2 separate regions of the Homo sapiens genome follow, and region 2 is linked to region 1. The links are contacts of gene promoters, found by promoter capture Hi-C in human tissues and cell types (Jung and others, 2019). All regions are on one chromosome and are shown on one strand. Each heading gives the region's core, a stretch centred on a gene start or on the middle of the fragment in contact. The rest is flanking DNA. Distances are from core to core; before and after follow the strand shown.

Region 1 (6,950 bases), core at 2,677-5,176:
AGAAATCATTTACAGAGTGCAGAGAGTGGACCAGATGCAACTTGTCCCACGTCACATCGCAAAAGGGACAGAGCTGGGGTTTGGACCCAGGCAGTCAGGCTCTGGAAACTGAGGTCTTAGCCTCTCCACATCACCATCTTCCAGGAGCTCAGGCCGGGTCCCACCCCAGCCGACCCTGCACCACCTCTGCTCCTCACCCTCCCTGAGTCCCAGCTGCACAGCTGAACCTGAGGTGTCCCCTGGGCCAAGGGTGGTAAACAGTCACTGCCACCTGCTCCTGCTCTGTGAGCAAGAGGAAGCAGAGCCCCTTGCCTAATAGAGGAAGTTCCTGGGTGGGGCACAGAGGGCCTGCCCAGGGGTTCCCAGCCCAGTCCGAGGCCCAGGAAGGGGCCACCTCCAGTGCCCCAGCTCAGGGCTAGGTGCCACCTGCAGGACACGTAACCCCCTCCCCACCCACCAGGCTGGCAGGCATCGCCCCTTTAAGCTGTAGGCAGCCGGCTGGCATGCCCAGCGGGTGAGTCAGCACCCAGTGCCCGCTGACTCACCGCCGGAAGCCTCCGCTGCCCCGGCCTTCTCCTCACACGGGCCAACTGAGAACTTTGCTCCCTTTGGGCGCTGGGCCATGGGTTGGCTGACAGAGAGTTTCCTGTGCGTCACAAGAGGGGTGGGGGAAGTCCCCGAGGTGCCACCTCCAGTCTTTCCGACAGCCAGGGGTTGGGGGGGTGGCCACAGCAGGCAGGGCTAGGATACAACAGTGCTCTATGAAACCTCAGTGTCACCATCGGGCAGTCAGGAGTCCTACAGCCACAGTCCAAGCTGTGTGAAGATTAGCCATGAAGTGCTCCCACAGGTGGCACTCTTAGGGCAGAAGGGGCAGAACCCATGTTCTGAACGACAACAGGACACGTGTGGTACCCTCCAAGGACAAATGTGGCTTGCACACATGCCCCCACCCACTGGCCCCAGCGCCAGCCACTTGGCCTCTAACCCCAGCCAGAGATGGCCATGTGGGCAAGGAGGCCAGGGGAAAACCAGCAGAGCTGTGGGCCTGAGGGCCTCACACACTCATAGAAAACTCCCCAGGCCCATGGCATGGAAACAGTGCAGGGCACCTGCTGCCAGGCAGGAAGCTCAAAGGTAAAGCTCCAGTAAGGTCAAGCGCCAGCCACTCCCTGCTTTGTTCAAATTCCTTTGAGAAGGTGGAGAAGGGATCAGTGCTGGGAGGCCCAGTGCCCAGGATGGGGTGGGCACAGAGTGAGGCTCTCCACCTATGGGGGCAGTCCGGCCACTCCTCCATCCAAGCTGAGTTCTGCATCTGTCAAATGAGTGGGATTTTGCAGCGAGAATGCAACAGGCCCAGTGTAAAGCGCTGTGCACAGGAGAGGCATCACCTCTGCCTCAGTCTGTCCTCTAGGTCTGACGTGGCCATGAGGACAGGCCCACTGCACATGCTCTGAGCAAGGCCAGGGGTGGGGGCACCCCACCAGCTCAGCTCAGGCATCCAGCATGGGAGGGGCACATAGGGGAGCACGGGGAAGGCCACTGTGGAAACACAGTCCTAGGGGGAACCCTAGCTCCGCCTGTCACAGCTGTGTGGCCTCAGGCAAGGCACTTAACGCCTCAGTTTCCTTATCAGTAAATGGGGCTATGAGGAATAAATGAGAAAATGCATGGCACATGGAAAAAAAGAAGGAGCTCATAGGGTTTTTGGTGAAGGGCATTGTGGCTCTGCCACCACATCCTTCCCCAGACCCCAAAGAGACTACAGAGTCCCTGGGCCTGAGGGAGGTCCCTGACCCTCCATCCAGCCCCCTCAACCTCATCTAGGACCTGGGTCCACATCTAGAAGTTCATTTTGGCCCTCTCACAGCATTCTCACTGCATCTATGACCCCTCTCCTTTCACAACTCTGCAACTGGAACTTTTATTTTGATGAGGCATTCTCTGCCTGGAGAGCTAAAAAGCCTCCAAAACAAACAGTGCTTCCTACCCTTCCCCGAGCTCTCCAGAGTGGAGAAGTGTCTGATTTCCTGGTTCCCAAGCTCCACGAGGTCTGTGCAGTGCAAGTCCCTCCCCAGACACCTCCCCCGTCGAGTGCCTCCCGAGTTACTCACAGTGGTTGGGCAATGGTCAGGGATCCGGCCTCCCACTTATGTAAGGCATAATTATCCAGCCCACCCGGCTCCAGCCACCATAGCAGCCAGCAGCAGGGGCCAGGAAGAGCCCATGCCCTCCCCAGGCCCACATAGGGCTCCCATTGGCCTGCACCCTCCAGAACAGAAGAGCGGCTGACCCCTGATGAAGTGCCCACTAGGTGCCCGCTGCTAGGTGCTTCCTCCTGCTCACTCTGAGGCTGCACTTCCAGCAGTGGAGGCCTTTCCAGCAAGAAGAATGGAAACAATAGCGAGATGTGTGCAGCCAGTGTACCCTGGTGAGCACCGGCTCTGCGCCAGGTGCTACGCTGAGAGAACGCCTCAGAGCTCTTTACTATTCACCACCCCACACCACACTCCCACGTCCACAGAAGCAGGTGCGATTACTTCCAATTTACAGAAAAGGAAACTGAGGCCCAGAGACACCAGGGAGCTTGCTGGGGTGAAGCAGCTGCAGGTTCAGAAAGCCAGGAGGCAGCCCATTCATTACGGCTATGTCCGGTTTGGAAATCTCTCGCACAACCCAGCCTACTGAAACTCCGACGCACCAAAAACATCCTTTCCTCTTCCTGAAAAAAAAAAAATTCCCCTTTTGCCCTCCGAGTTTCATCCTTCCCCCTCCGCATGACAAATCCTGCTGCTGCCACCTCACAAAAATTTCCAGGAAGGCCAGCTACTTGGAGAAGAGCAAATCCCTTGCACAGCCAGCACCCTGGCCTGGCGGCTGGCCCAGATCCCAGGCAGCCAGGACAAGAATAAGATGGGGTGAGAACCCCCAGTGCAGGGAGAAGCTTGCAACTCAAGACAGAGAGAGGCCGGTAGAGAGGGGGCTGTACCTTAGGGAGGGGTGGGAGGACAAGGAAGGTTCCTGGGAGCCCAGGGCTGCAGGACAGGGTGCAGGCCAGCCAGGGAAGGGGCAACATAGGGCCTATAAGGATAAGAAGAGCTGGGGGAGAGAAGGACGGGGAGTTCCGAGCTGGGGTGTAGCCAGAGCACCCGCATAGGGGGTACAGTGAGGTCCGCAACAACAGGAGCACTCTGGGGCCCAGATGGAGACTCAAGTTAAATCCCAACCTGGATACAGCCCTGGGACCCGAAGCTAGAAATGGGACTGGGTGCTGCCCAAGGACCCAGGTGAAGGCCAGTGTGAATCTCACCTGGGTCCCGCTGAGGGAGAAGACTGGGAGAGTTCATGTCCAGGCTGCAGCCATAAGGCCCAAATGAGGTCAGAATGAGGCTCCTGACTTGGATGGGGTGAGCAGAACAAAGTCCTAGTCTGGGTCCAGCCTGGGTGATCTCGGGCCTGAGTGCAGTCCCAAGGCCTAACGTGGGGGTCCAGGTGAGGGCCCAGGCGGGGGCTGGTCCCGGGACCCCGAACAGGAAGGGGTTCCGGGACCGGACGCCGCTGCCAGGTCGAGAACAGGATGGGGTGGGACCAAAGAAAGGTCGGGGTTTGCAGCCCGGCCCCAGATTAGGCGCGGGGTCAGGCCGAGGTCCCGGCCGGGAGCGCCTACCTTTGGACTGGGGCATGCTGGCGGGCTGGCTCGAGGCGGGCGACTCCATGCTGCAAGTGGGTCCTGGACGGCGGTGGAGACTAATCTAGAGGACTGCGGGCTCCACCGGGGCCGAGCACGCTCATGGCTGCGGGCAGACGGCCCAGGCCAGGCGGAGGAGCAGCGGCGGCGGCGGCGGCGGCGGCGGCGACTGCGGCGAGGACTGCGGCGGCGACTGCAGCAAGGACGAGTCCGCGACGGGCGGCGCCGGAGACAGACTGGGCAGCGCCGGGGAGACCCCGGCCGAACTGCGCTGACTCAGGCCCCGCCCCTGCGTGCCCGATTGGTCCTTTCGTTTCCAAGGCCCGTCCTCTGCCTATCAGACGCCGGCCTGTCCCTGCCTGTCAAGCACACGCCCCACCCTCCTTAGGCCCAGGATCCGGGCCCCTCCCGCTCTCTGTCAAGTCCGCCAGCCGCCCGAAAAACCCAGGTCCGGTCAGGCTCCGCCCCCTGGACTAAAGCCGCGCCCCTCGCGCTGCCCGTCAACATGCAAGCCCCACCCACTCCCGGGACCCACTGAGCCCGCTGCTCCCTGCAGGCGCCCAGGCCCAGCCCGGCACCCCCAGACCCGCAGCCCCGGCGGGTGCGATGCGCGGGCGCGTTCTCCTGGGTGCGTCGTCTGGAAAAAACCCGAGATCCCTAAAGGTGGCACGGCTGGGCCTGCCGAAGTGGGCGGGGGTTAAAAGTGCGCTGCTGGGCTGCCTCCTGGCTCTCTGAACCTGCAGCTGCCTCACCCTAGCAAGCTCCCTAGTGTCTCTGGGCCTCAGTTTCCTTTTCTGTAAATTGGACCCGGGTTCGGATCCGAGTCGGCAGCTTTGTAGCGGAACTAGCCTTGGTCAGGTGGTGACACCTGAGCCTCAGTCTACGCATCTGTGAGCGGGCGGCGGTGACAGCTATCTCCCGGCGCTGCTCGCTAACACGCACTGAGGGCCTGGCGCCAGCAAACGTCGCCCGCGCCCGCGCTCCAGGCGCCCGGCCAGGGCGCGGGGTCGGTGGTGAGCTCAGCGATGCCCGGTGACGAGGCAGCACGAGGAGTTTTCGTGGCTGGTTACTGCTGCCCCTGTTCTACACAGGGGGAAACCGTGTCTCAGAGGGAGTGAGGCGGCATGCGGTGCATTTTATCCCGCGAGCCCCGAGGCCCCATCCTGGCTCTCTCCTGGACCTTCGTTCTCTCCTCTCCTCCTAGGATCTCAGTCTGCCCATCTGCATAATGGCTGGATGGGCCAGTCCTCCCTCTGCTCCCACACGGAACCTCGGGGGATTTCAGGAACCGCTGACCAATCTGGCGCTGGGAACAGATGACTCTGGATGTAAAGCCAGGGCTAGTGAAGGCAGAATGTACCAGGCAAAGGTCAAGGGGTCAGCCCCTGGCCTCCAGGCAGACATGTGTACCCTGTCAGGGACCTCACGTGAGGGAAGCAGATTCCACCACCTGCTAGAAAGGCTTGAGGCCGGGCCTGACCTCTGCTTGCCCAGGTGTAAAGTGGGGGTGATGCAGGGCCCCATGCACAGAGTGGGGAGCCACAGGAGATAAGAGGGAAGCCTTGCAGCCATCACCATTCTCTTCCTGCGTCTCCTGTTCACCCTTCCCAGGCAGTGGGATGGAAAATCATGAGTCTGGGGCTCAGATAGGTATGGGTTCCAATACCAATTCCTCCACTTACTAGCTGGATGACCTTAAAGAAGTCACTGAGCAGCTCTGTGCCTCAGTTTACCTATCCCATGGGGACAATAAGGTCTCTGAAAGCGTTTCATGAGTTCAGGAGTGGAAACACCTGGCCTAGGGCTTGGCACTCACTAGGTGCCCAGGAAATGTGAGTTTGAAAACACTGTGGGCTGCCTCCATCCTTGCCATATCATCCCTGGTGACCTGTGCTTATCCGTCTGTAAAATGGGCATCCAGGAGCAGCTTCCTTTCTACCAGAACTGCAAGGCTAGTCCAGCGAGTTTTCTGGGTTCAGGCACTGGCCAACAGCCTTGACTTCTGCACAAGGCCACACTCCGCCTTGTGCACTCTGCTTCTTGGGATGTTCAAGAGTCTCAGTATTGCCCCTCAAATGTGCCAGGGATGGTCCTGCCGCAGCAGCTTCACCCTTGCTGCTCCTGCCCAGAACATTCTTCCACTCAAGCCTCCTGGGGCTGGTTCCCTCTCATCCCTCAGACCGCTTCCTAAATGAACACCCCTAAGAGGCCTTCTCATCATGGTCCCCAGACTGAGGCACAACACTTATGCTGCTGATGTCTTTGTTACTGACTCAGTTTTTAACACAGCTCTCCCTCCAGACCATCCGAGCCTCATTCCCTGCTGTGTTCCCAATGCATAGCCCAGAACCAGGCACATAGTAGGTGCCTGATAAATATTTGAGGAATGAAAAAAGGAAGGAGGAAAGCATCCACAGACCAGGGTGAAGCGACTCCAGTCCCGTGCCAACCTCCTTGGCGGCCAGATGACTCAGACAGGCCCTCGCATACAAGGAGTTTGGGGATTAGTCAGGAGCCCGATAAACAGCTCAGGAATCACAAAACTCCATGTGAGTGCTATAAATAGATGCATGAGCAAAAGTCCCAGGAGGGTGCCTGGGTGATGCAGCCATCTCCATCTGGGTGGGGACAAGGAAGGCCTCTCAGAGGAGGTGATTTTGAGACTGGACTTTTAAGGACCAGTAGGAGCTTACCAGGCAGAGAAGCAAGAAGAGCATCCCTGGAAAGGAACAGCAGAGGCAATGGGTTGGAGATGTAAAAAGGGCCACACATGAGGACCAGGTGAGGGCCAGACTGGGATGCACAGCTGCACCACTGGAGCTCAAGAAGTACCATCAAGAACCATCAGAGACAAAGGTCTCTTGCTGGCTTGCTATAGTGACATCTCTTGATTTCTTTCTGTCTGTAAGTGGCACAGTCAGATTGGGGAACTCCATGACCATGCAGAAAGCAGAATAAATGTTTGACATGGGTCACAAGAGGCTGCCTCTTACCTTGATTCCTAGGAGAAAAGTCCCAAACCTGCTCTCTGTGGATGCAGGAAACTGAGTCTCTGGATGGGAAGGATTGTGGCCAAAGTCAGGATGCAAGCATGATCTGAGGTGGGCAGGACCTGGGGTGACAGAAGGCTGTAAAGAGAGGCTGACTCAATAGCATTAACTATAAGTTTTGTGCTTCCAAATCACTTTTTGGTTTTTAAGAATTTCTTGATACTATTGTAGCCTGCCTTCGATTTTGATCCTTTATTCTTTCTATTTGTCAG
Region 2 (6,271 bases), core at 3,694-6,193, 45 kb after region 1:
GCAAGCGGATCGTGGACCTGCAGCACACCGAGGTCCCAGATGCCTACCGTGGGCGTGGCATCGCCAAGCACCTTGCCAAGGTAGGGCAGGCAGGTGGCAGGGCCAAGCGGGGACGGGGACATGGGGGCTGCCACCTTCGCTCCGAGGAGACGGTGGCCCTGGTGGCCACTTCAGCCTGCTTCTTGGCCCTGGGTCCTCTCTGGGCCAGTGGCCGCCTTTCTGGGCCCAGGCTCCTGTTCTGCAAGACCCTGGCGTGGCTGAGCCTCCAAGATCCTCACACACCTCCTGTGTGGCAGGTGCTTCACAGGAGCCCCATTCCTGCCCCCAACCCCTTCATCCTCAGGGCATCCCAAACCCCAGGCTGCCTGGAGAGCAGGTTTGGGCTTAATGAAGGGAGTTACAGCCAGAGCAAAGAATGACCGTCACTCCCCTGAGGGCTGCTGCTGGGACTTAGCTGGGCCGTCTGCCGGCTTCCCCTCCTCCACCCCCACCCCGCCAGGAGAATTGCAGGGCAACCTTTGTCCTCCATGCTGCCTGGGGCAAGGGGGCTTGTAGGGGAGAGGTGATGTGTTTTTTCCTTGTGTACCGGACCAGTCTGTGGGGATCATCCCAGGTGACACTGAAACTCAAGGGAGTTACTGACCTGGGCAAAGTGGAAGGGTGGCCAGGGAGCCGGGCCTGGGGAGGCAGCAGACAATGCTACCTTCTGGTGCCGGCTGCAGGCCCTGACCACTCTCCTCTCTGCCCGGCTCCCAGGCCGCCCTGGACTTCGTGGTGGAGGAGGACCTGAAGGCCCATCTCACCTGCTGGTACATCCAGAAGTACGTCAAGGAGAACCCCCTGCCGCAGTACCTGGAGCGCCTGCAGCCGTAACCCTGGCCTGCAGGCGGGAGCGCTCCCTGCCGGACTCTTCCACGTGGCCTTTGCCTGGCCCCACGTGCTCTCAGGAACCTGGTCCCACTGGGAACAGACTCAGAGTTATTTTTGTAAGGACACTCATCTGTGCCCCACGTCCAGATCCCTGGAGGCAGCTGACCAATGATGGGCGGTGACCCGGTAACCGAGGCGGCAAGGAGGCCAGGTAGTCCCGGCACCTCTCACTCTGCAGAGACCAGCGGCTTCGTGGGAGGCCTGTGGGTCACACGTAGGGGCTAGAGCCAGCCTGCATCCTGCCCACCGGGCTCCACTTGGAGATCAGCAGGAGGGCCAGTGTGGGACCCCTGCTGCCACCTCTCCTGGGCCTGTGTCCTTTCTGGAAATTAAGAAGGTGTGCTCCAGAGCCAAGAGGAGCAATAAGAAACCTCGTGTGCCAGCTTCTGAGGGTGGCAGTGCCAGACCCCACCTGCCAGCGGTGCTGCCCCTTTCTCAGACCCCCATGCCCAGTGCAGGCAGGGCCCTGGAAAGGGTCAGCTCTCCCTGACAGAGACCAGCAGAGTGAAGGACTGAGCACTGGCCAGGCTCAACCGTACGTGCGGTTCACACATGTGAACACACAGGATGCAGTCTACAGGCGGGCTGGTGGTGGGTGCCGGGGGTGTTTTCCTCTCCTTGGTACCCCCATCTTTTTTTTGGCCTCTCGTGTAGGTTCTGCAGGAAACCAAGGCCCCATCCCCATGGGCTGCTATCCCCTATACCCCTGTCTGCCAGGAGGAGATCCAAGGGGGCCTGAGCAGCTGCAGGCCCGCCCCTTGCTGGCCTTGGCCACCTGCCTGAGCCTTCTCCGAGGAGATGCCTTGGGGCTGGGGTGGGAGTGAAGCTGACTATTCTCCAAAAACCACCCTCAGCATCCAAGAGGAAGAAACATCAGCCACAGGGGTTTCTGTGCTGCTGCCAGACATCAGTGTCCTCTTTTGTGGCTGGCTACAGCCGGATACACTTTGCTGCCCATCTGGCCCTGGGCTCCTCCCCAACCCAGCCTTCCTGGGTGCAGCCTGGGAGACACACTAGCATGCTTTGGTGGGACCAGCCTTTCCAGGGCATGCTGGCTTCCCCTGGGGCTGACTCAGGTCCCGCCCTCTTGTGTCAGTGCTAACAAGGATCAGATTCGTCCCTGCCCTTCTGTAGAGCTGGAGGGTGACCTGGAGCCAGGGGCCCTTTAGGGCTGAGACATTTGTTAGTCGGAGTGATGCATCCCTACCCGGCTTCGGGGGGAGTCAGGCTGGGCTCTGGGCAGTACAGGGAGAGGTTCACCAGGACCCCCATGCCTTCCTCCCCCGGTGCAGGGGCAGTGGTCACCATGCTGACTCCTCCCTTTGACTCCATGCACGGGCGCTGGCTGGCCTGTGGTTGCATTTCCCACTCACCTCCTTGCTATCCCCAGTCTTGGCACCGAGACCCCCCACATTCCTTCTCCAGCAACAGCAGCCCAGGGGCCTTCCTGCCTGGACGCAGGACCACGGAGACCTGCATGTGCAGGGAGGCCTGGCAGCCTGCCGATGGGGGTCCCCGAGCCCCGGAGTCTCCTCGAAACCCCTGCTGTGGGTCACAGCATGGACCAGGAGGGGTCACCATCCTGAGTACCCCCGACATCCCTGCCCCTTGACCTGTGGCAGATGCTCCTGCCCTGGCCTCCAGGAAGTCAGCTCTTTTGCAAAGGGCTTGTGTGAGAGGTCGGAGAAAGCCCTGGGCCTCCAGGGAGATGCAGCTGGCAGGAGGTGGGCTGAGCTGCTCCGGGGCTAGGGGTGGCCCATTGCTGGCAGAATTTAAGGAAAGAGCAGGTTGTAGGCACAGAGGATGGGCAGCCAGGCCTGGGCCTTCCCCTTACTGTCCCAGGGCAGCAGAGCTAGGGTCCTCTTTTACCCTCCCTAAGGTCACCCCCTTCCCATCTACACGTCCCTCCCCAAGTTCAAGCACATAGTCAATCATGACCACTCAGGAGCTCAGTGAGCTGGGGCCATGTCCCTGTGGCCTCCAGCCCATCCGCAGGAGGGTCCCTTGCAGTGACAGCACAAAGAGTCCCCCACAGGAAGCCCCTGAGGGCCAGCATGGACCTTGAGAGCCAGGAGGGAATGGGCCTGGTGCCACTCTGTTCCCACTCCCACCTAAGATTCCTACCCCTGTGTTCTAGCAGGTGACTCTTGATCTGGCCAGCCCACAACAAATACTTGAACTAGGCAGCATGGGGTGGTGGAGGCCTGCAGAGGCCCCGGGCCCAGGAACTGAGACTAGGGCTTTCTCATGAGGCCTCATCAAGCTCCCGCAGGTATGACCTGGCCTCCTCGCCTCGGGCTGCCTTAAAGCACCGCTAACCCACGCCAAGGGGCTAGGCAGGGCTTCGCGGGGCCTGGCCCAAGGTCTCCAGCAGAGCAATAACATCTTCCCAGGTTGGGTTGCCACAGACACCGTGCCCTGGAGCCCCCAGCCCATCCCATCTGGTGCTACCCTGTCTGCCTGGCAGCCTAGCCTCACCCCTCCTGTCCGGTCACCTGGGGGTCCTTGGTAAGGATGCCGCCACATGGGGCCGGTTTATGCACCTGGGCGAGAACCTGACTGGGGCAGGGGATGCTCAGGGGCCTGCAGGTCTCCCACAGAGCTGCTTTTCTGCCCGCCTCACCCTGTGGGTTTGTATTTCTTGCCGGGTCAAAATAGGCAGTGACTCGTGCCTTCCCTCCTCAGGGCCGGCGGCAGGGTGTGGACCCAGCTGGCCGCTGGACCGTCCCCTTCCTCATTCTCCAAGCTCATCAACAGGTCTCAGAGGAACATTTCCATAAAAGGTGTGGCCTGGCATGCAGTGCTGTCTGCACGCTGTCGCTTCCCCCACAGCAACCTGCCGGTCAGCCTTAACTGGTGTGGAGGTCGAGGTGGGGAGGGGGAGGCGGGCTTCCCTCCCTGGTGTCTGGCCTCTTTTTGCTCAGCCCTCAGCACAGCCTTCAGCGTGGAGAGCGAGACCCTGCGTGTCACTGGGGCTTGGCTGAGGTCTCCCTGCAGGATAACAGTGACTTCAGGAACCCAGACCCCAGTCTGGGCGGCTCTACCTTCCCGGCTGGCCCAGCCCCCACACCACAGTTCCCTGCCACCTCCAGGCACAAAAGCCTCTGAGGCCACAGCCCAGCTATGAAGCTGAGTGGCTTTGTGCGGTCTCCTAGGGAAGGGGCAGTGATGCCATGCATGAGATCCGCTGTGCCATAAGAAGTTGCTTCCTTTAGAATTTCTGGTCCAATGCAGGGAGGTGAGGCCCAGCCTCATGATAACACATGCCCATCAAGGAAAAGCTGTGGCTAATGCTTCCAAAACAAGTGAAAATCTTGCACCAGGCCCAGGGCCATATCTCATTCCGCCCCAGCTACTGAGGGAGGGGACAGACTGCTGGAGGACAATTTCTCCTAGTTACCACTAGGGGTTACATGGCTACTCAGAATGAAAGATAAATTGCCAGGCCTGTTGCAATCTTTTTTTTGAGATGGGAGTCTTGCTCTGTCGCCCAGGCTGGAGTGCAGAGGTGCGATCTCAGCTCACTGCAACCTCCACCTCCCGGGTCAAGCAATTCTCCTGCCTCAGCTTCCCGAGTAGCTGGAATTACAGGTGCCCACCACCATGCCTGGCTAATTTTTGTATTTTTAGTAGAGACGGGGTTTCACCATGTTGGCCAGGCTGGTCTTGAACACCTGACCTCAAATGATCCGCCCACCTCGGCCTCCCAAAGTGTTGGGATTACAGGCGTGAGCCACCTCACCAGGCCCCGTTGCAATCTTACTCCACTTCGTTTTCACAGCAGTCCCGGGACATGCCCATTATTAGGCCTATTTGATAGATGATACTGAGGCTGAGTCGGGGGTCACAAGCCAAAGCCACACCGCTAGAAGGGCTCAGGACCCAGCCCAGCTCCCGTCCTCTTGGTGGCATCAAGCTTGTGTGATATGAGGTCTTATGTCTGCTCATGACAGCCTTAAAAGCAATAAACAGATACAACTTCCAGCAACTTCCCACTCAGCTGCAAGGCTGCGGGGGGGTCCTGCCTCGAGCCATAAGGTGAGCAGCTAGCCAGTGCCGGGCCAGTGTGGAGAAGGCTGAATTGCCTGTGAAGCTGGGGTTGCAGGCAGGAATATTCATGGAGCCCCTGACCATGTACTCACACTGCTCTTCCTCAGTTCAGGGTTCTTGGATTTGCTCAAGTCCACCCAAATATCCCTTTACGATTCTCAGGGTCCCACTCCTTCCAGATCCAATGCCCTAAACTTTACATAAGAGTTCCGGCAAGGCTGTGACTTCAACTTGTGTTGTAACTGCAACCTGCAGAATCAAATTTAGGGTTATGTTTTCAGTTGTATCAGTCTTACGGCTACAAGATATTAAAGAGATTCTTTTCTGGTTATCAAAGATGCTCTCTGGTTTTCTGTCCATGTTTTGAGCTGGGTTTATCACTTCTGACTCCAGTGTAGTCAGAAGCCACCAGTCTCTCCAGCTGTCCCCATGACATGAAGGGCTGCAGCCATTTGGTCTCTCAAACTTTGCCTTCAAGAGACACTTCACGCCAGGCACTTAACATAGGTGATATTGTGAGGACTAGTTTTGCCACTGAATGCTGTGACTTTCCAGGGTACCACATCCCCTCTGACAGTGAGGTCATTACTGCGTTCCAGCCCAATCCAGGCAGATAACCAGTCCCCGATTTCCAGCATTAAGGCTCTATTTCTAGGAAGTCATTCCTGCTACCAAGGACATTACCAGTCAGTGAAGAGTCAGGAAAATGGAAATTGCCCAGGCACTTCAGAGTGGATTTAATGCAGGGGACTGGTTATGAAAACTGTTGGAAGGATGAGAGGAGTGAGAGTGGAGGTGAGATTGCCAAAATATTGGTAAGTAAGTGCAGGAAGCTGCTTTTACATGGAGGCTGGAGGAACAGGTGTCACCCAGAAGCGTCTGGGGATCACAGGGCTGCTAGGGTACTCCTGGTAGAAAGTTGATGGCTGAACAAGACCCAGGTGTGCATGCCTGCTGTTGCCACCACTAAAAAAACCCCCAGATCCAGGAACTTTACTGCCTTCTGATTGATCAGTGCTTCCTACCAGCAGAAACAAATTGGAAGCCCACTGGTAAGGGCTCTAGCAAATGTAGTTTGCAGGCTTCCAGCTTCTCTGTGATCAGAGAAGGGAAGGGCTGGCAACCAACAGACAATCAGGGCAAGGAGAAATATTCTTGCCTGCAGGGGCTGTGGCATATGACATAAATGCCAGTTCATTGATACCAAGGCTGAGGCAAAGCATCTAGAGGATGACAGACCCCAGAACCAGGCAGACCAAGAATGGATGGATAGTGGGTAGATGATTGGGTG

Evidence for each region. Contacts are between HindIII fragments. The study calls those that stand out against the background at their distance.
Region 2: a fragment that was not itself captured here is called in contact with the fragment with the promoter of MAP2K3 in region 1 in 1 of the 25 tissues and cell types used here (spleen).

Annotation. Positions count from the first base shown.
Region 1 is chr17:21,281,687-21,288,636 of GRCh38, reverse strand. MAP2K3 (mitogen-activated protein kinase kinase 3) reads right to left here and starts at 3,926. Exons shown (of 12, transcript NM_145109.3): 1 at 3,668-3,926. The coding sequence starts at 3,716. RefSeq lists enhancers at 478-567, 411-1,006, 1-1,077, 2,218-2,277, 4,354-4,854 and a silencer at 3,938-4,467. The HindIII fragment of the contact is 7,420 bases long and covers 1,456-6,950 here.
Region 2 is chr17:21,237,915-21,244,185 of GRCh38, reverse strand. NATD1 (N-acetyltransferase domain containing 1) reads left to right here. Exons shown (of 3, transcript NM_152914.3): 2 at 1-80; 3 at 757-5,316. The coding sequence ends at 873. Among named protein-coding and RNA genes, the nearest start is that of NATD1, 12 kb to the left of the region's middle. RefSeq lists enhancers at 1-120, 3,099-3,843, 4,589-5,333. The HindIII fragment of the contact is 8,520 bases long and covers 684-6,271 here.